Linked DNA regions of Homo sapiens: region 1 is linked to region 2. Evidence: promoter capture Hi-C in human tissues and cell types (Jung and others, 2019). All regions are on one chromosome and are shown on one strand. Each heading gives the region's core, a stretch centred on a gene start or on the middle of the fragment in contact. The rest is flanking DNA. Distances are from core to core; before and after follow the strand shown.

Evidence for each region. Contacts are between HindIII fragments. The study calls those that stand out against the background at their distance.
Region 1: a contact is called between a fragment that was not itself captured here and the fragment with the promoter of TM4SF4 in region 2, in 1 of the 25 tissues and cell types used here (mesenchymal stem cells).

Annotation. Positions count from the first base shown.
Region 1 is chr3:149,430,444-149,433,397 of GRCh38, reverse strand. It overlaps the pseudogene RPL32P8. Among named protein-coding and RNA genes, the nearest start is that of TM4SF4, 43 kb to the left of the region's middle. The HindIII fragment of the contact is 3,608 bases long and covers 1-2,954 here.
Region 2 is chr3:149,473,434-149,476,516 of GRCh38, reverse strand. It overlaps TM4SF4 (transmembrane 4 L six family member 4), which reads right to left and starts at 1,820. Exons shown (of 5, transcript NM_004617.4): 1 at 1,466-1,820; 2 at 605-694. The coding sequence starts at 1,639. The HindIII fragment of the contact is 12,667 bases long and covers 1-3,083 here.

The DNA.
Region 1 (2,954 bases), core at 312-2,811, 43 kb after region 2:
GGACCAAGACGTTCATCTGGCATCAGTCTGACTGATATGTCAAAATTAAGCAGAAACCCCGTGGTATTGACAACAGTGTTCGTAGAAGATTTAAGGGCCAGATCTTGATGCCCAACATTGGTTATGGGAGTAACAACAACAATAACAAAAAAGCACATGCTGCTCAGCGGCTTCTGAAAGTTCCTGATCCACAGTGTCAAGGAACTGGAAGTGCTGTTGCCGTGCAAGAAATCTTACCGTGCTGAGATCACTCGGTGTTTCCTCCAAGAACAGCACAGCTATGGTGGAAAGAGCAGCCCAGCTGGCCCTCAGAGTCACCAGTCCTAATGCCAGGCTGTGCGGCGGGGAAAATGAACAAACAGCTCATGTCTACGTTTTATTTGTGTTTAAATACAACCATAGGAACTGGAAACAAACAAACAAACACGGGTTTGAACTTTGTGGGTCCACTTATGTGTGGATTTTCTTCTGCCTCTGCCACCCCTGAGACAGCCAGATCAAGCCCTCCTTTGTTTCTTCCTCCTCAGCCTACTAGGCATGGAGATGAGGAGGTTGAAGACCTTTATGATGACCCACTTTCAATTAATGAATAGTAAATATATTTTCTCTTTCTTATGATTTTCTTAATAACTTTTCTCTAGCTTACCTTAGTGTAAGAATATAGCATATAAAACATATAACACACAAAATATTGAGTGTTTATTTTACCGGGAAGCCTTCTGCTAAACAGCAGAACTATTGGTAGTTAAGTTTTGGGGAAGTCAAAAGTGATACATGAAGTTTTGACTGCACAGGGGTTGGCGCCTCTAACTCTCACGTTGTTCAAGGGTCAACTGTATGGTTTTTGCCATTTATCAGTAGAGATAGACTTGATGGGCCCTAATGTTGCTTCTAATTCCTAATGTTCAACTATAGCCAGGGCTTCTCTTAGAACAAATGAAGGTCTTGCCTTTTTGCCAATTTTGAAAGTAGAAGGAACTGCAGATTTAAAGTTAGTGAGCTGTGGGTCTGAATCTGGCCCCATTACCTGCTAGGAGTGTTTCTTATCTTTCGGTCTAGAGTACTTCATCTGTGAAGTGAGAATGCCAGTATCTTTCTTAAAGGGTTCTGACAAGGATTGAAATACAACATATAAACTAAATATATAGGGTTGGGAAAGAGGGTCAATGGTTTTAAACATTAGCATTAGGGAACCAAATATATTTACACACGGTTCACTAGCATTCTGTTAATGATTCCTATTCATTTAGAAACAGTTTATAAAAAAAGACAAATAAGAATTGGGGGTGACTTAACCTGTTCCAGTGACCTATTTCTATGTAATAAACCACTCAGATTTTCATAGCTTAAACCAACAGCTTATTATTTCTTGTAGATCTGTAGATTTAACGGTGATAAAAACTTCTTAAAGATTTATTGTTGTGGCTTTCTTTGGAAAAGACAATCTACAGTAAAATCCTGTCTAGATTCCTCATGATTAATATCTAAAAGTGGTGTTTTCTATGAGCCCCTCCCTGTTGTCTCACTATAGTTATTTTGGCAGATTCTATCACCTGTTATATCTTTAACTAGGAAAACCTTTTGAGAATCCAAAGGGGTCCTGTGTCCCTGTATCACGGTGACCAATCTCTTTCAGAAGCTGAAGAACATCTACAGTAAAGATTGACCAATGGACTTCTGCTTCAAAAATCTGCCCTGACTCTGTGTGTGTGTCCTTAGTAACAGCTCTTAGCCTCCCTGAACTTCAGCTTGTTTCTCTGGAAAACTGGGGTAGGAGAGTGGACTGGAAGGGTCTGTAAAGTGCTTTCCTTAGCTGATATTCTATGATTTAAAAAAAATAATTTGGCACTACATAAGGCAGAAATATTTCATAATCTAATTATTGCAGAATCCTTAAAGGTTAAGAAAATGTATACTGGAAGCGGTACTGTAACGCAGAAACCTGCTGTCAGTGTAAAATGGTGTCTTGGGTTTGTATAGCACTCGAATAACTGCAATTGGCACTAGTTTATTTTTAAAATTTTTAAAAATCACCTTTCTCAGGTTGAATATACTATTTCAGTTTGATAAAAATATCCCAGTAGTATTTATTAAATAAAATCATTTACAATGGTTTCTTTCTAATTCTAAAAGCTTAATTCTATGTTAAAGTTTGACTTACATCTTGAGACCTTAAAAGATACAGAAGTGTACTCAGTTTTACAGAATAGAGGGTAAGAATTAGAGAATTATCTCTTTTGCATTACAAGCCATTTTGTAGAAAGAAAAATACAGAGCCAGAGAAAGACATTTTATTAGGAACATTAGGCCAGGTGCAGTGGCTCATGCCTGTAATCCTAGCACTTTAGGTGACTGAGGCAGGTGGATCACTTGAGCCCAGGAGTTTGAGACCAGTCTGGGCAACATGGTGAGCCCCATCTCTACTAAAAATACAAAAATTAGCTGGTTGTGGTGGTGGTGCGCATCTGTAGTCCCAGCTACTCAGGAGGCTGAGGTGGATCACCTGAGCCTGGAAAGTCGAGGCTGCAATGAGCCATGAATACACCACTGTATTCCAGCCGGGGTGACAGTGAGACCCTGTATCAAAAAAAAAAAAAAAAAAGAAAGAAAGAAAGAAACATTTTCGCATTAAGTGTTTCTCAACACAATTCTCTTGAGTGTTTCTAGGAGAGAATGACCACAATAACGAGGAGTTTAGAAATTACAGTAAATGAATAGTTAAAGGAACTAGAATGTTAGGTTGGAGAATTTGGGGGACTATACTAATTGTCATCAAACATTTAGAAGATGTCATCTGCTGAGAAAGGCATTTTGGGAAGCTCCACTTGATAGAACTAAGAAGTTACTAAACTTAATAAAAAGACTTCAGTTCAATATAAGGCATTTTCTAACAATTATAGCCCCTTTTTCAGGACTACTGCCCTTGAAATGGAAATGGTAGTGTTTTTGTCACC
Region 2 (3,083 bases), core at 571-3,070:
CCACTGCACTCTGGAACTTTGATGCCTAACGTCTCTAGTTCAAGATCGATGGCCGCATGAAACAAGAGAGGAAACAGAAGTCCTGAAGCAGAGCCTGGTGGAAGCCAGAGGCGCTGGGCCTCAGAAATAGAGAACATGGAAGTGGTGTGAGTGAGGAACCTAGAAGCCTACTGGGGAGGGGAGGATACCATCTTTTGTCCTGTCCCAAGTCCCCTTTGCAGATGAGGCAATTCAGGGCCAGAAAAGGGAAATGACTTGTCCAAGTTCTTATGGCCTCTCAGTGGCAGAGGAATGCTGCAGCTTCATCTCTGCCTTCCAGGCTTGCATTCTGTATATGGGACCCCTCTGAATCTCCAGTTCTGACATCCCTGTCGGTTTGTAAAATCTAATACAATATTCATACCCTATAAGTATGAGGGCTATGGTATTTTGGAAAATTATTATTATTTCACACTGGCAGGAAAAATCACAGTTTTATCCCTTCACCAGCTGCTCCCAGAGTCCTGGCTGGAGCTGATAACTTGTCTCCATCCCCATGCTGCCCAGCACAAAAGCACAGAGCACCCTGGAGTAATTCTAGTAGCTGCCCCCCATGGTAACTCACCGCAAATCGCTTCCCACAGCCCTCGTTGCCGCAGCACCCACAGCAGTCATTGTTCTTCAGGCCCAAGAACACCAGCGCAGGGAAGATCATCTACCAGGAGAAGAGGCACCTCAGAGAGAGTCCAGGAGTTGAAGGGAGGGCCCGAGCCTGCCTGACTGTATAAGGAGCCCCATCCACAATGAGGGATTTGGAGGCCCAAAGGGAATGGCAAAGTAACAGAGCATGGCTGGAGGGGTAATGGAGTGTTATGGAGTACTTAGATTCCATTTGGGCTGACTAACCAGCTTCAATGAGGCAAGATTTCAAAATCTGAGTTTCCATTTAGATGGTGTGTTAGAAAAAAGAATAACAAACTTTTCCTCAATTGTCATGAAGAGTGAGTCTCTCTCCCTTTCACTCTCTCAAACGGAGGTTCCCAATTCTATTGGAAACCAGAGGTAAAGAAATCATTAGGTCCTAAGTGGAAGACGACCACACTGACAACAGCTTCTCATGGTGGTTTTAAGTCAATTTGCTTTTCTAGTGGGTTTGCATCGTGGGTTTGTTGTTGTTATTGTTTTGGGCACTATCTTGTTGGAATCAAGAAACTATGCGACCTTCACTTCGGTTCATGGGACTCAAATGACCCATGAGAACTGTCAGCCCAAGCTTAGAGATTAATTACTTAGTAAATTTAGCTGACGTGTCCTTGTCAGATCCTAACAGAAACGAGAAAAAAATTAAGGCATTGACCTCTCACCATGCAATGCTTGAGCTTCTATTACCAACTAAATATCTCCCTGTTCAATAAGTACCTGATTTAAAAAGGATTGTGGGGAAGGGAAAATCTCCCTTAGGGGGATTTTAAGCTTCCCTACTCACCAAGACACCGCTTCCTAATATTCCTCCGAAAAACCAGATCTCTTGGGAAAGGTGGTCGTTGTCATCTATCACTTTTCCTCCAGGAAAAAATAACAGGATGTTAGCCAGGAAGCCAAAAAAAGCAAGGGGAATGAGGGTCCCCCCCAGGCATCTGGCACAGCCCCCAGTGCACATTCTGGGGTGGTACGACACAGGTCAGCAATCAAAAGCTCCTCACTGCCTCCTTCACGGGGCCTCTTCAAGGGTTTTTGGCCAGAGAGTCCTTGTAATTGTCTCCAATTCAATCAGTATTTTGGGGCTGAGAACCAAATTTCTGTGAACTGTGTCCTTGGAGTTGCTTCAGCTTCTCAAAAATAGCAGAACCTCGATGGCAATGGACATTTATACATTCTCCCTGACCTGAAGTGCTTTGTTTTTTGCACCCCCATAAATGAGATTACGTTCAGAGCAATCATTCAATCGTTTTGCCATGGAGACCAATAACCTCTGTTAATAATCCACCAGCACAGACAAGACACTCACATTGTTGCAATCGAAGACAGGGCTGGAACAAACAGCATTTAGAACCACTGCACCTTTAATCTGACAGTGCCCATGCCCAAATAAAGAAATATTTTCTCCAGACTCTTTATAAATCACTAATATAATTGAGTTACATCCTGGTTAAAATCATGTCTCCCAAGTACTTAATGGTGTACAGTGCGTGTCTTTGTCTTTTCCACTGAAAGCCTGGAATTCAGGGTTATCCAAAAGAGCTTCTGTTTTCCTCAATATCAAAATAATTTGATGGTCTAGTTGTGTATCATTGAGCTCAGACTTAAAAGAATTGTTTAAGGCAAAAAGCTACTGTTCATTTTATTGTCTGATTGCTGTGTTTCTCTACTTGTTACGCAATTAAGTAATTAAGTTCTATCTTTTCCCTACACGATGTGATGGAATTAGCAAAAACAGTTTTCCTAATCAACTTTCTCAGCTATGTCTTCCATATAGGAATAAAGAAACCATCATCCACTAAGGCTAAGGGGAAAGGAAGGTCAGCATTGGTAGAGAGGGAGAGAAAAGGTCCTGATGAGTTGACTGGGGAGAAGACACAGTTGGAAGAGCAGTTATAGAGTGCAGGAGGCAGTAAAACACACCCCTATTAGAAAGTTTGCCAACTGCCAGGGGCATGATTCATTCATTTGCTTTGTGTCACTTAAGAAGTTCTCTGCCACGCCTGGACCAAGCTCTACATTATGCGATGGCCCTGCCTGGTACTGGTATTACATAACAGCTGAAGGATTAAGAGGTGGAACTGGAAGTCTTACTAGTTCTTCATTGAGAATCTAGAGGTTAAAATAGGTCGAATATTTTAGGGAGTCAAATTTTAGCTAAATAAAAAGCAAGTGACATTATTACCATGGTAAGACCTGTCCTACCGTGGAATAGGCCACCTGCTCACAAGGAAGCCATGGACTGGGCTTTGCCAAGGCTCAGAGGCCCTTGGAAAGGGAAGCTGTGGGAAGGATTCCAGAAAAGTCAGACTGGAAAAATGTTGAGGCTCCTTCTAAAATTTCTAAGAAATGAGTACTGGTTGCTTTATAAAGATACTTAGAAATCTCAGGGTCAGGATGAGAAA